Regions from separate parts of the Homo sapiens genome. Here regions 2, 3 and 4 are each linked to region 1. Evidence: promoter capture Hi-C in human tissues and cell types (Jung and others, 2019). All regions are on one chromosome and are shown on one strand. Each heading gives the region's core, a stretch centred on a gene start or on the middle of the fragment in contact. The rest is flanking DNA. Distances are from core to core; before and after follow the strand shown.

Region 1 (3,404 bases), core at 642-3,141:
GGCCATGTAGAACCCGTGGCATGGGCAAAGGATGCTGCTGTCTGGTTTACTAACACTTGCTGAGCGCTTACCCTCAGCCAATCTCTTCAAACTTCCTATCAGTCCGCCTAGCAATCCCATCTGTGGGATGAAGACACTGGGGCTTACTGGCAGACTCTAGAGCCCTCCCCTCCACCAACCTAAGGCTTCTTCTCCATCTTTGTGTAAGTAGGAATGGCTCTGGTAGGGCCCCTCAGGCCATCTGAAGTTCAAAACACATTGGCAGCTGGGCTGGATAGCATGCCTATAGGACTAGCTCCTAGGGAGGCTGAGGCGGAAGGGCTGCTGGAGTCCAGGAATTTGTTTTTGAGACAGCGTCTTGTTCTGTTACCCAGGCTGGAGTGTAGTGGTTCGATCATAGCTCACTGTTGCCTTGACCTCCTGGGCTCAAGCAATTCTCCTGCCTCAGCCTCCCTAGTAGCTGGGACTACAGGCACACTCCACCATGCCTGGCTAATGTTTTTTTTTTTTTTCTTTTCTTTTCTTTTTCTTTTTTTTTTTATTTTTATTTTTTGAGATGGAGTCTCACTCTGTCGCCCAGGCTGGAGTACAGTGGCATAATCTTGGCCCACTGCAACCTCTGTCTCCTGGGTTTAAGCGATTCTTCTGCCTCAACCTTCCCAGTGGCTGGGACTACAGGCACGTGCCACCATGCCTGGCTAATTTTTGTATTTTTTAGTAGAGATAGGGTTTCACCATATTAGCCAGGCTGGTCTCTAACTTCTGACCTCGTGATCCGCCCACCTCGGCCTCCCAGAGTGTTGGGATTACAGGCGTGAGCCTGCACCCGGCCCTGGCTAATTTTTTAATTTTAATTTTTGTAGAGACGGGGGAAGTCTCGCTTTGTTGCCCAGGCTGGTCTTGAACTCCTGGCCTCAAGCGATCCTCCATCTTCAGCCTCCCAAAGTGCTGGGACTACAGGTGTGAGCCACTGTGCCTGGCCAATAATGTAAGATGGGATTGTGTGGAGTAGGTGTGCCTGGGGTCTTTGCTTGCCTGCGGGGACTGAGGTGTGAGGTCTGTGGCCCAGACTGAGCAATGGTGGGCAGGCAAGTCCCTGAGCCCCTAAAACTTGCGAGAGGAGAAGTTTATAGACTGCAGCTCAGGTGCCTATAAATTTGTTGCAGCTTGGGAAGAAGTGATAGAAATTATATCAGGTGTATTTGGAAAACAGGTAAACTCTGTTTTTTGGTTTTTTTTTTTTTTTTTTTTTTTTTTTTTTTTGGAGACGGAGTCTCGCTCTGCTGCCCAAGCTGGAGTGCAGTGGTGCGATTTCAGCTCACTGCAACCTCCACCTGCGGGGTTCAAGCGATTCTCCTGCCTCAGCCTCCCGAGTAGCTGGGATTACGGGCATGGTGCCCGTAACGCCGAAAGTGCTGAGATTACAGGCTTGAGCCACGGCGCCCGGCCACTCATTTTTTAAAAACTAGTTATTAATTATAATTTCTCTTCAAGTTTTCCTGAGATGTAAAAACTCATCGCCTTCAGCTGGTTCTAAACTTCTTGTCTCTGCTAACAACTCTCCCCCCTCCTCGATCTCACCCCACCCCAGTGCACCCCAACTCACTTCATCTCACTTTACTCGAGTCTAGCACTATCTTTTAGGGACCTGAAAACTACTGTCGATAAGGTCAGTTGGGAATTTAGGAGGTCATGGATGTCGGAAATAAAGGTGTGAAAAAGAAGAGGAGGAATTGTTTTGGCTTTAAGACACCGGAACCTCCAAGGTTCCTACAAAACCGTTTGCAGCTTTTGCAAACCGCCTTAAAGTCATCAGCGCCCCACTGCGGAATTCAAAGCTAAGCTGTCACAATTGTTAACACCTTCTTTGACCAGCCTTTTTACATTTGACAATTCTCTTCAGCGCCTCTTTCCTGCCAGCAGGAAGGTTTTGCTGCCTTGGCTTTCGGGAGCCCCCTAGACAGCGAACTGCCCCTTCGCGTGCAGAAGTCGGGGAAGAGTGCTCTCAGCTCGCCTTCCTTGCAGGGTGAGTAGGTTTTGCGGGTTAGAGAGCGGGGCGTGGGGGCGGGGAGGGAGAGTAACAATTTTGGAAGTCCCTGCGTGGTATCTGGAAAGTTAACGACGCTTCAGGTTCTAGGTTGAGCCCAATGACCGTCTTGCCTTGGCAGCTGGTCCCAGGGCGATTGCAGAGCCGCGTGGCCTTCGGCCCCACTCGGGGGACCCAGCTTCGGAGAGGGCGCAGGGGCTGCGAGTCTTGCGAGCCGGAGCCGCGTCCACCCGGGACTAGGCGTCCCCGCCGAGCGCTGGCTTGTGGCGCTCCCTGGGACCGCGCGGGGTCGGGGGTGCGCCCGCGGGGGCCCTCCCACTCTGGTCAACTTTCCCGGCCCCAGGGCCGGGGGAGGCGCCTCTCCTGGCGGGCACGCGCCGGGTACTTAAGGGCGGCTCGGCTGGGCAGGCGGCAGTCGGAGCGCGCGGCGGCGCGGAGCGGAGCGGGAGGAGGGGCATGGAGCCGCCGCGGGCCTGCTGAGCTCCGGAGCGCGGCAGCCGGCGGCACGGTGAGCGCGGGCCGGCCGGCACCCAGGAGGGGAGGGCCGCGCGGGGCTGCGCCGAGGCCGGGGCGCGCCGGGTGGCAGGGGTGCCTCTCGCCGAGCCCCCCGCACCCGGCCAGCTCCCAGCCCTGCGGGCGCCGCGTCCGGCGCGGGGAGGCGGGTTGGGGGCGGCGGCAGCCCCGGGCTTCCCGGCGGCCGTTCCTGCAGCCCCCTCCCCACTGACCCCTCCTCCCTTTCTTCCTGCATCCTCTCCTCTTCCAGCCTCGCCTCCCTCCTCCCCGGCGGCTCCTGTTTTGTGAATGAATTAGGAGGCGGACGCCGGTGCGGGGCTCCAGGCTGGCTGGGGTACCCCTCCCCCGCACCTTCTACGACCTCCCGGGGGTTTGCACCTGTCCGGGCACCAAGGTACCAGGCGCCCACGTTCCTGCGGGTTAGCCGGGCCGCGGCAGCACGTGTCCGGGGGAGTGGGCTCCCCTCCCCTGGCCGGCCTGGAGGGGCCCGGAGGGCGGCCGGGCACAAGAGGAGGAGCCCCGTTGGGCGCACAAGTTTCCATGCCGCTGCGTGTGGCCCTGCCGCGGGGCGCACCTGTCAGCGGGAGAGACGCTGCACACCAGCAGCCCCTCAAAGTTTCGGAGGCTTGATGGAGAAGCGTGCGTCCTTGACTGGGGGTTCTCCTTCCGTAGTCCTGGGAGCCGGACTTGAGAGCGCCCCCAACCTTGTGCCCTTGAAAGCCGAGTGCGCGTTAGTTTGCCTGGGCTGGGCTCCCGTGGATGAGCGAAGGGCATGAGGAGGCGGCGGTCCAGGCTGTAGGATCACCCCACAGCCTCTGCCGGCTTGGGGTGACACAGCCCCCCG
Region 2 (3,404 bases), core at 372-2,871, 680 kb before region 1:
TGTATATCACATGTGGGGACAATGTCCCCCTCAACGCCTAGCCAGAGGGATGGGGCAGGATGGGGATGCAGCATCCAACATCTGTTGACTGTCTTTCCTCAAATCCTGTTACACATTTCCTTGCATCTCCAGAGTTTTGGTAAGAGAAAAACCATGTACTTCACCTCTATCTTGACAACAATAACTTTCCTCCCTTCCTATGGAAGATAGAGAGAACCCTCCTCACCTCCAACATAGCACAGATGCCCCAGGGCCCAGCTTCCATGAACCCCATGTAATGATGATGATGAAGATGACAACCATAATGAAGCCTTACTCCTAAAATGAGTATAATGACACTAATGATAAAGGCAGCATCAGAGAGTGGGGGAGAGAACAGACTTTGAAGCCAGACTGCCTGAGTTCCAGCTCCACCTATCACTAATTGTGGGAACTTGGAGGTCACTTTGTTCTTGGGCTCCCTCATCTGTAAAGTGGGGATCAGAGTAGCTGATTATTGGAACATGTAGTATCCCGAATAGCTATTGCTTTTTTTTTTTTTTTTTTAAGAGATAGTGTCTTTCTTGTCACATGGCCTGGAGTGCAGTGGTGTGATCTTGGCTCACTGCAGCCTCAACCTCCTAGGCTCAAGCAATCCTCCCACCTGTCTCCCAAGTAGCTGAGACCACAGGCATGCACAGGTTTTGCCATGTTGGCCAGGCTGGTACCGAACTCCTGACCTCAGGTGATCCATCTGCCTCAGCCTCCCAAAGTGCTGGGATTATACGTGTGAGCCACCATGCCCGGCCATTATTCTTATTACTAATATCATTACTATAGGCACCTTTCATATCCATTTCATTTGAACTTCGCAATCCTATAAGGAAAAAGGTACAATTGTTATTGTCCCACTTTGCAGATGAGGAAATTGAGGTTCAGAGAAGTTGAGGGACTTGTCCAAAGACACTCAGCCTGGTACGGAGCCTATATGATCTTCCAGTTGGCTCCCTCTGGCTAGGCTAATAGCCTGGTTACCCAGGCTTAAAAGGGATGCTTCACCATTACCTGACAGTCCTCCCATTATCCCTGCCCAGCAGGGAGGGGCGTTTTATTGCCTCAACTTAATGCATGGGAGATAAGGGCCAGGTGAGTTAAGTGGCTCCTAGGCAGGCCTGCCTCCTCCAGCTAAGCTGCTTTTGAACCAGCTGATCAGGACTACTCTTCAAAATCGCAATTTAACTGCTGGGCTGCATCCATTGTTCTGTGTGTGGAGGCAGCTGCCCCATAGGCCACCTCACTTGGTGCTGTCACAGTGATTAATAAGGATATTCTGTGTTCACATGAGGCCTCTCAGTCAAGGCCTCAGAGCACTTTGTAAGCATTAATTAAGCTTCATGATGGTGACTCAGGTAGGTGGGGGCCCTGAACCCACTTCAACATGTCTTCAGCTAATGCAGAGAGAGACCAAATCGCTCCCTCAGCAAGCTATGGCCTTCAGCTCATCCAGGTCCTAGTGGGCATTCTCCATCCCTGGGGTTTGGCCAAAATCATTTGTGGAGAAAAGACTTCCCCTCTTGTCCTTCCAGACTTCAGAACAATAACCAGCACCCAGAAGCCACTCCCATTTGAGTCAGGACCAGGCCAACAGCTCTGATGGGCTGGGTTCTACCTGATGCTCATTCACTGGCCCACCTGGGTTCACAGCCAGAGACCACCAGCATGTCGGCACCAACTGCCTCTGTACACAGGGGCCCCTGGAGTCAGGCCCGTCCCTGCAACACCATCTGCACAGTATCCCCATCCTCCCTCATCTGCTTCACCCCCATTCCCAGCTCTGCCCTCGCACATCTGCCACCTGCTTTCTGTGGCTCTGTCTGGCGCTTGTGGGGAATGGCAGAGACTGTGTAACTCAAGGTAAAGAGCTTGAACCTCCACCCAAGGATGAGGGGGAGCCACAAAAGGGAGAGACGTGGTTATATGTGTGCTTTGGAATGACAGCACAGGAAGATAGGTATGTGGGGTGGGGGATGAAGAGACCAGAGGCAATGGAGCCAAAGCCAGCATGGCAATGAGCCAGGGGGACAGACTTATGACCAACCTGGCAGTGTTTGTGCAAACCACTCCCCCAGTACACCTGAAGAAGCCATGTCCAGTAAAACAATTAAGTCCAAGCCCCACTCCCTCACTCTACCACCTCCCAGACACATCTCTTTGACTTGGCTAGGGAATGAGGCCTGATACTCATAGCTCGGCCTCCATTCCTAGCCATTGACATTCCAGGGCACCATTGAGTTCGACCCATTAAAGAGTCTAGGGGTGGGCATTGTTTTTCTTCCCTACTTGCTTGATGAAACCAAGGCTTAGGGGTCCAGTGGCCTGCCTATTAGACTTGGTAGTAGCCCCTGAAAGATGTCCATATCCTAATCTCCAGAACTGGTGAATATGCTACTCTATGTGGCAAAAGGAACTTTGCAGATGTGATTAAGTCAAGCATCTTGAGATGGGGAGAGAAGCCTGGATTATCCAGATAGGCCCAACGTAACGACAAGGATCCTTTTGAGAGGGAAGCAAGACCGCTGAAGGTGGAAGAAGAGGATGACAAGGAAGCAGAGGCTGAAGCTTTGAAAATGGAGGAAGGAGCAAGGAGCCAAGGAATATAGGCAGGCTCTAGAAGTTAGAAGGAAACAGATTCTCCCCTAGAGCTTCCCGAAGGAACACCAGCCTGCTGATGCTTTGATTTTAGCTCAGTGAAATTGATTTTGGGTTTCTGACCTCCAAAACTGTAAGATAACATATTCCTCAGCATCACCAAACTACAGCAGAAATCCTCAGAAGGAGGTGGAATTTATCCTAGGTGAGGAAATATTGTGATTCTGCAGAGGCCCTCATGGAATCTGAATTAACCTCTTCCCTTGCCCAGAACTGGGAAAGCCATGGATGTTGGGCCTGGTTCTCATTTTGCTGTGATCTGGGCAGGTGCTTGGACAAGATAGACGTATAAGGCCCCTGAGCAAGAAGCTGGAAGAATGTGCAGGAAACAGAGTATAGTAAAGTGCTCAGAGGGAGGAAAAGAAGGTTTTGCTGTTGTTGAAATAAAAAACAGTACAGGCCCAGCTGCTTGGAGGCCTCCAGTCAGGTGAGAACTGGTGGTGAAGAATTCCACCTCCCACTGAGGGGTTGTTTAGTTTGATGATGCTGAGGGTTTGGAGAAAAGGGGAGGGAATTTTCTCCTTAGCCACAGATCTGAGATGACTGCAAATTGCTTCCCATGCAGTCTCCTTATTTTAACCTCCAGGGAATAGTGGGCGAGTTTCTGCCTCCCCTGGGTGTACCTGCTGCAGAGAAAGAGGTGGCGTGTAGGCTGCTGGGAGATTCTGGGCTGGGCTGCACTGGTTCCTTCGTTAAAGTGAGGAGGTTAATGTGAG
Region 3 (3,404 bases), core at 356-2,855, 660 kb before region 1:
GGTAGGGGGTATGGGAAAAGGGAAAGATGTGGGGGCATAGTGCCCTGCCCTGGCTCAGCCGCCTCCTCCCTCGGGATTTTCCATCCCGGCTCGCGCGGGCCCGCTAGAAGCCGGTGCGCTTTGTCTCCCGCCCCGCTCCTGGCACGTTTCCGTGGAAGCTGCCCGCGCCGCGCCCGAAGCCCCCCCTCCGCGGCCGCGCCCCCCGCCCAGCCCGCGGCGCAGGCCTGCCAGTGCGGCGACCGCCGCTTTGTCCTCTCGAGGATGCCTGGGCCGAGCGCGAAAGCCCCATGCCTTGGAACAGCCACCGCGCGTCCTGGAAGCAGGTCCCCGAGCCTCGGTTTGGGGTGCGCCCTGCATCGGAGCGGAGCAGCCCCCAAAGATTCGCGGGCACGAGGTTGGGGGTAGCGTCTACCTGGAGCTCTTGAGTGCTTGAGGGGAGACCCGCCCCGTCCCGCTCTGTACATGCCCATCTGGGATTGGCCCCCAGCTGCGGTGCCAGAGGCTCGGTCCCCGGGGCGTGGTGGGCTAGGGCGGGTCGTCTCGACTTAGAGCCCCAGGCCTGGATCCAGGTAGGGAGGGCCTGGGAGATAAGGCCCAGGTGGGGAGAGGTGGGGAGGGGTCCCTCCTGTCCTCGTACATCCCCCTACACTACCTCTCACACCCAGGCCACCCAACCCTCGGCGCGGGCCCGAGCGCGGGGGATTCCGAGTGTCAGTGCTTTCCTCCACCCGCGACTCCGAGAAGGATGGGGAGGGGTCTCCCAGCGTTTCCCTGCCACATTCCAATTCCACCCTTCACCAGTAACCTAGGAGGGTCCAAGTGGGAGGGGTAAGAGTCCTCTGTCTCTTCCACATCCTCGATCCTCCTCTTTACAAAACCCTAGGGCCAAGGGAGGAGGGGGGAATAGGGAGGGGGGCGAGTGTGGAGGAAGGGGCCTGGGCAAGGGTCTTCCCTGCATCCCAAGCAGCCCTTCCTGAATACCCCTGGGAGGGTCTGGGCTAGGGGAGCGGTCCGCGATCTCATCCATCACCACCAGACTCCTTTGTAACCTCGAGCAGCCGAAGTGTTGCGGGGAGGGGTCCCCCTGCCTCGAGTCCCTTCATCCCACAACACCTCATCCTCCCGTCCTGAGTAATCCGAGCAGCCCCGTCGCCAGGCACAGCGGGAGGGAGGGTCCAAGCCTCCTCGCTCTCCCAGGAGAGATGGGGGGTGGGGGTGACCCCCAGCCCTCGCCCCTCATACCCAAGAGCCTTCTCCATGATAAAACGAAAACTAACCCAAGCTGCTCCGACCTCCGGCGCCCGGCCACGGGAGGCCCCTAGTCAGTCGGCGGCTGTCCGGGACCCGCGGTCCTGAGAGCAACGAGAACACGTCCCGTCAACTCCCCAGCCCCTCACGCCTCGGTTCGCCCGCTCCCCAAGAAAACAAAAGCGAATTCAGCAGCACTGACCTCTGACGGCGGGCGGGAGGGCGGTCAGCGCCCGGCAGCGCACCCCGCTCCTCCCGGCTCCTCACAGCCCGGGCTCCCGGCCGCAGATCTGGCGGCGGCCGCAGCGGCGGCGGCTCTCGCGGCTCTCGGGTCCGGAGCCTCCCTCAGACTCAGCACCTGGAGCGGCGAACAGCTCCGCGCTTCATTCCTCTGACCCCGCCTCCCTCGCGCCGCCGGAGCCAATGGTGACCCGGACCCCGCCCAGGAGTCTGCCCATTGGGGGCGTCCTCCCCTCTCCCTCCGGCCCCGCCCGCAGGTTCCTGGGTCTCTCCTTCAAGACCACATCCCCCAGAGACCGGCGGAGTTTCGCACAGCCTTCTGGGACTTATAGTTCTTTAAGGACGCGGAGTGGGCTCACGCCGCGGGTAGGCAAACAGAGCGGGACTGCATTTCCCAGAGTGCACTGAAGACACGGAGGCGCGGAGCAGGGCGGGAGGACCGTTTCCATAGCAAAGACGACCAGCCGAGGATGGCTGGCGGAGGCGTGGGGCAGGCCGCAGGACCCTCGAAGGATCGTGTGAGACCCCGGGCAGCCTCTTGGGAGGCCATTTCGAGGAGAAAACCTTGATTTCTGCCTCAGGACCCTGGGCCTCAGTTTTCCTATCTGAGAAGAAGGGCGAAGAGCTGTGCCCCCGACCACACCCGTCGGTGATGGGGCAAACCGAGGGCAAGCAGGTTTGGTTCCTGCCCAGCAAAGGTGAGGGAGGACGGAGGAGACTCTCCCACCGCATTCAGAACTTTATTCCTTTATTTTTGTCTCAATCTTGTCATAGAGGAGCGCTTCACTTTTGGTCATCCCTTGGGCCACCAGGGCCTTCCCGTCTCCGTCTTCCCATCGCAGGTCCTGGCCTCCTTCACACCACTCCAGGATACCGCAGCATCTCCCCCAGCGCAGCAGACGGAGGGCGCTTCACATGCCCCCGGACCTAAGCCCACTCTCCCCTTCAAGATCTGGACTCCACTTTTTTGCAACACTCTTAACTTCTTTGGAAGCTGGGAAGCCTCCTACTCCCTTGGGCCTCTCCACCCTGCCCTCAGCTAACTCGTCGGCAAGCCCCAGCCTAGACATTGCCTGTTTTGTGAAGACATCTAGATGCTGGGCTGTCTGTTGAGTGCCCCACCCTGTGTTTGAGCAGCACCCTCTACTTCCCCTGTTCTACTTGCATGTTTATGTGCTCGTCTTCCTCATTATAAGATCCACAGGGGAGGGGCCATGTCTATATTATTCATACTTACAGTCCAGTGTCTAGTATCTGGCACGTAGTAGGCACTCACTAGCTATTGAGATATAAATATAGATATTTGTTGAATTGAAAATGAATTGGGCCGGGCGTGGTGGCTCACGCCTGTAATCCCAGAACTTTGGGAGGCCGAGGCAGGTGGATCACTAGGTCAGGAGTTCGAGACAAGTCTGACCAAAATGGTGAAACCCAGTCTCTACTAAAAATACAAAAATTAGCTGGGCGTGGTGGCACGTGCCTGTAATCCCAGCTATTCAGGAGGCTGAGGCGGGAGAATCGCTTGAACCCCGGGAGGTGGAGGTTGCAGTGAGTCGAGATTGCACCACTACACTCCAGCCTGGACAACAGAGTGAGACCCTGTCTCAAAAAAAAAAAAAAAAAAAGAGAAAAAGAATAAAATTAAAAAAAAGAAAATAAAGGAACCTCATTCACATACACCTCCAAAACTCTGATTTCCTAAAGTTGGGCATTTCTCATTGCTGGAGGTGTTCAGTTAGAGGCATGCCGCCCCCTTGAAGAAATGTTTATTTCATTTGTACAGTGGGTTGGGATTTTACCTGAATGCTTTGAGTACCCTTTTAATCCTATGATGCTAGAGATTGATAGACCCATGCCTATTATTCCTGTCAGTTCTCCCTGAAATGTCATCAGTTCTTCATGTTCCGCTATTTCTA
Region 4 (3,404 bases), core at 493-2,992, 530 kb before region 1:
GAAAAACCCAGAAAGTCACTAAGCTATCGCTTAACAGCTGACCTTGAGGCTCTATGCAAGCAGGAAGCAATGCCTAAGGCAGGGTAGTAAACTGCCTAGCTGAGTGTGGAAAGTGTGCCCCTAAAGACACAAGAGCCCTTTGCTCTTTGGAAAAGACCAGGAGACTTGGTTGTTCTAGGCATTTAAGGAACTCTCTGTCTAATCAGCTGACCACTAGCTAACTGAGCAGAGATTTCAGGGGCCACATGACAGAGAACACAGAGTTTAAGAATTTGTTCAGAAAAGTTACTAAATAAACAGCAGCAACAACAGCCAGCAACAAACTCTAGGAAGGGGAGGGGAAATCTGATTTCCAGAATTGCCACTTTATGTTTTAAGTGTTCAACATTCAACAAAAAATTATGAGGCATGCAACACAACAGGAATATATGGCCCACCCACAGGGGGAAAAAAACAATCAATAGAAACTTCCTGAGGAAGCCTAAACAAGACTTTACCTTAGCTATTTTAAAATATGTTTAAAGAACTAAATGAAACCATGTCTAGAGAACTAAAGGAAAATATGAGAACAATATTTCACCAAATAGAAACTATCAATAAAGAGGTAGAAATTATTTTTAATGACAAAATAGAAATTTGGGAATTCAAAAGTACATTAACTGAAATGAAAAATTCACTAGAGGGGTTCAGCAGCAGATTTGAGCAAGCAAAAGAAATATTCAGCAAACTCGAAGCTACGTCAATTGAGAGTTTCAGTCTGAGGAGCAGGATTTTAAAAGGAATGAAAAAAAGTAAACAGAGCCTCAGAGACCTGTGGGACACCATCAAGCATACCAACATTTGTGTAACAGGAGTCCCAGAAGAAGAGAAGGGAGGGAAAGGAGCAGAAATAATATTTGAAGAAATAATGGCCAAAACTTCCCAGATCAAAAAACATACATCTAAGAATCTCAAAAAAACTCCAAGGAGGATAAACTCTTAAGAGGTCCACACCTAGACACATCATAATCAAATTAAATGATACACTGGAAAATACTGTTTAACACAAAAGAAAACAGGCCATATCAAAAAGACATAAGACCTATAGATACAAATACCAAAATGGCAGATATAAACTCTACCTTACAAGTAAATACATCAAGTGTAAATGGATTAAGCACAATCAAAAGGAATAGATTGGGCCAGGTGCAGTGGCTCATGCCTGTAATCCCAGCACTTTGGGAGACTGAAGCTTAGGAGTTTGAGACCAGCCTGGCCAACATAGCAAAACCCCATCTCTATTAAAAATACAAAAGCTCGCTGGGTGTGATGGCAGGTGCCTGTAATCCCAGCTACTCAGGAGGATGAGGCAGGAGAATCACTTGAACCTGGGAGGTATGTGTTGCAGTGAGTTGATATTGCATCACTGCACTCCAGCCTGGGCAATAGAGTGAGATTCCATCTCAAAAAAAATAAAAAAAAAAGGCCAGGCCCGGTGGCTCACACCTGTAATCCCAGCACTTTGGGAGGCTGAGGCAGGCAGATCACACGGTCAGGAGATTGAGACCATCCTGGCTAACACGGTGAAACCCTGTCTCTACTAAAAATACAAAAAATTAGCCAGGAGTGGTGGCAGGCGCCTGTAGTCCCAGCTACTCAGGAGGCTGAGGCAGGAGAATCGTGTGAACCTGGGAGGCGGGTAATCCCTGTAATCTGGGATTACAGGCATGAGCCACTGCACCTGGCCAGCAGAATGGATTTAAAAACATGATTCAGGCCGGGGCGTGGTGGCTCATGCCTGTAATCCCAGCACTTTGGGAGGCTGAGGTGGGCGGACCTGAGGTTAGCAGCTCGAGACCAGCTTGGCCAACGTGGTGAAACCCAATGTCTACTAAAAATAAAAAAATTAGCCAGGCATGGTGGCACACACCCGTAATCCAAGCTACTTGGGAGGCTGAGGCAGGAGAATTGCTTGAACCCAGGAGGTAGAGGTTGCAGTGAGCCGAGATTGTGCCACTGCATTCCAGCTTGGGCAACAGAGTGAGACTCTGCCTAAAAAAAAAAAAAAAAAAAAAAAAAAAAATCAACTAGATGTTGCCTACAAGAGACACAAATTAAATTCAAAGGTACAAACAGGTTGAAAGTAAAAGGATGGGAAGAGATTTATACCACACAAATAGAAACCAAGAGAGAGCTGTGATGCCTATACCAATGTCAGAACAAAACAGACTTTAAGAGAAAAATTGGGCTGGGTGTGGTGGCTCCTGCCTGTAATCCCAACAGTTTGGGAGGCCAAGGCAGGAGGATCACTTGAGGTCAGGAGTTCCGGATCAGCCTGGGCAACACAGTAAGATCCCATCTCTTAAAAAAAATTTTTTTTTTATTACTTGAGTATGGTGGCGTGTGCCTGTAGTCCCAGCTACTCAGGAGGCTGAGTTGGGAAGAGTGCCTGAGCCCATGAATTCGAGGTTGCAGTGAGCTATGATTGTACCACTGCACTTCAGCCTTGGCAACACAAGATGCTGTCTCTAAAAAACAAGAGAAAACATGTCCATGCAGACCTGTACATGAATGTTTCTAGCAACTTTTTTTTTGCAATAGTCAAAAACTGGAAACAACTCAAAGGTGCATCAGCAGGTGAATGGATAAACAAATCATGATGTATCCACACAGTGGAATACTACACAGTAATAAGAAGGAATGAACTGTTAATACATACAACATGCATGAATTTCAAAATAATTATGCTAAGTGAAAGACCCAAAAGGTTACATACTACATGATTTCATTTGTACAAAATTCTAGAAAATGTACCTTTATTGACAAAAAGCCAATCAGCAGTTGCCTAGGGCCAGGAGCAGAAGGAGAGATTGGCTGCAGAGGGACACAAGAAAATTCCTAGGGGTGACAGAAATGCTTGATAAGTTGATTGTGGTGATAGCTTCATGAGTATTCACATCTGTCTAACCTCACTGAATTATATATACATATATTATTTTTTTCAGAGACAGAGTCTCGCTGTGTTGCCCAGGCTGGAGTGCAGTGGTACAATCTCCGCTCACCGCAACCTCCACCTCCTGGGTTCAAGTGATTCTTGCGCCTCAGCCTCTCCAGTAGCTGGGATTACAGGTATGCACCACCACACTCGGCTAAGTTTTGTATTTTTACAATACAATGTAAAAATGTATTTTTCACCATGTTGGCCAGGCTGGTCTCAAACCCCTAACCTCAGATGATTTGCCCGCTTCGGCCTCCCAAAGTGCTGGGATTACAGGTGTGAGCCACCACTCCCAGCCTGAATTGTATATTTTATTTATTTATCTTTATTTTATTTAATTAATTAATTTATTTATTTTTGAGATGGAGTTTCACTTTTGTTGCCCAGGGTGGAGTGCAGTGGCGTAATCTCGGCCCAGCAAGGAAGC

What was found. Contacts are between HindIII fragments. The study calls those that stand out against the background at their distance.
Region 2: a contact is called between a fragment that was not itself captured here and the fragment with the promoter of HAS3 in region 1, in 2 of the 25 tissues and cell types used here (dorsolateral prefrontal cortex and mesenchymal stem cells).
Region 3: a contact is called between the fragment with the promoter of SMPD3 here and the fragment with the promoter of HAS3 in region 1, in 3 of the 25 tissues and cell types used here (adrenal gland, mesenchymal stem cells and mesendoderm cells).
Region 4: a fragment that was not itself captured here is called in contact with the fragment with the promoter of HAS3 in region 1 in 2 of the 25 tissues and cell types used here (spleen and thymus).

The regions. Positions count from the first base shown.
Region 1 is chr16:69,103,762-69,107,165 of GRCh38, forward strand. It overlaps HAS3 (hyaluronan synthase 3), which reads left to right and starts at 1,892. Exons shown (of 4, transcript NM_001199280.2): 1 at 1,892-2,026. RefSeq lists an enhancer at 1,557-2,105 and a silencer at 2,239-2,518. The HindIII fragment of the contact is 9,378 bases long and covers 1-3,404 here.
Region 2 is chr16:68,419,455-68,422,858 of GRCh38, forward strand. All of the region lies in intron 1 of SMPD3 (sphingomyelin phosphodiesterase 3), which reads right to left. Among named protein-coding and RNA genes, the nearest start is that of SMPD3, 27 kb to the right of the region's middle. The HindIII fragment of the contact is 3,675 bases long and covers 1-3,404 here.
Region 3 is chr16:68,446,903-68,450,306 of GRCh38, forward strand. SMPD3 (sphingomyelin phosphodiesterase 3) reads right to left here and starts at 1,606. Exons shown (of 9, transcript NM_018667.4): 1 at 1,451-1,606. It overlaps LOC124903705 (a long non-coding RNA gene), which reads left to right and starts at 1,938. Exons shown (of 2, transcript XR_007065097.1): 1 at 1,938-2,164; 2 at 2,263-3,404. RefSeq lists a silencer at 1,304-1,823 and an enhancer at 1,924-1,973. The HindIII fragment of the contact is 13,014 bases long and covers 1-3,404 here.
Region 4 is chr16:68,576,831-68,580,234 of GRCh38, forward strand. No RefSeq gene overlaps it. Among named protein-coding and RNA genes, the nearest start is that of ZFP90, 39 kb to the left of the region's middle. The HindIII fragment of the contact is 6,765 bases long and covers 1-3,404 here.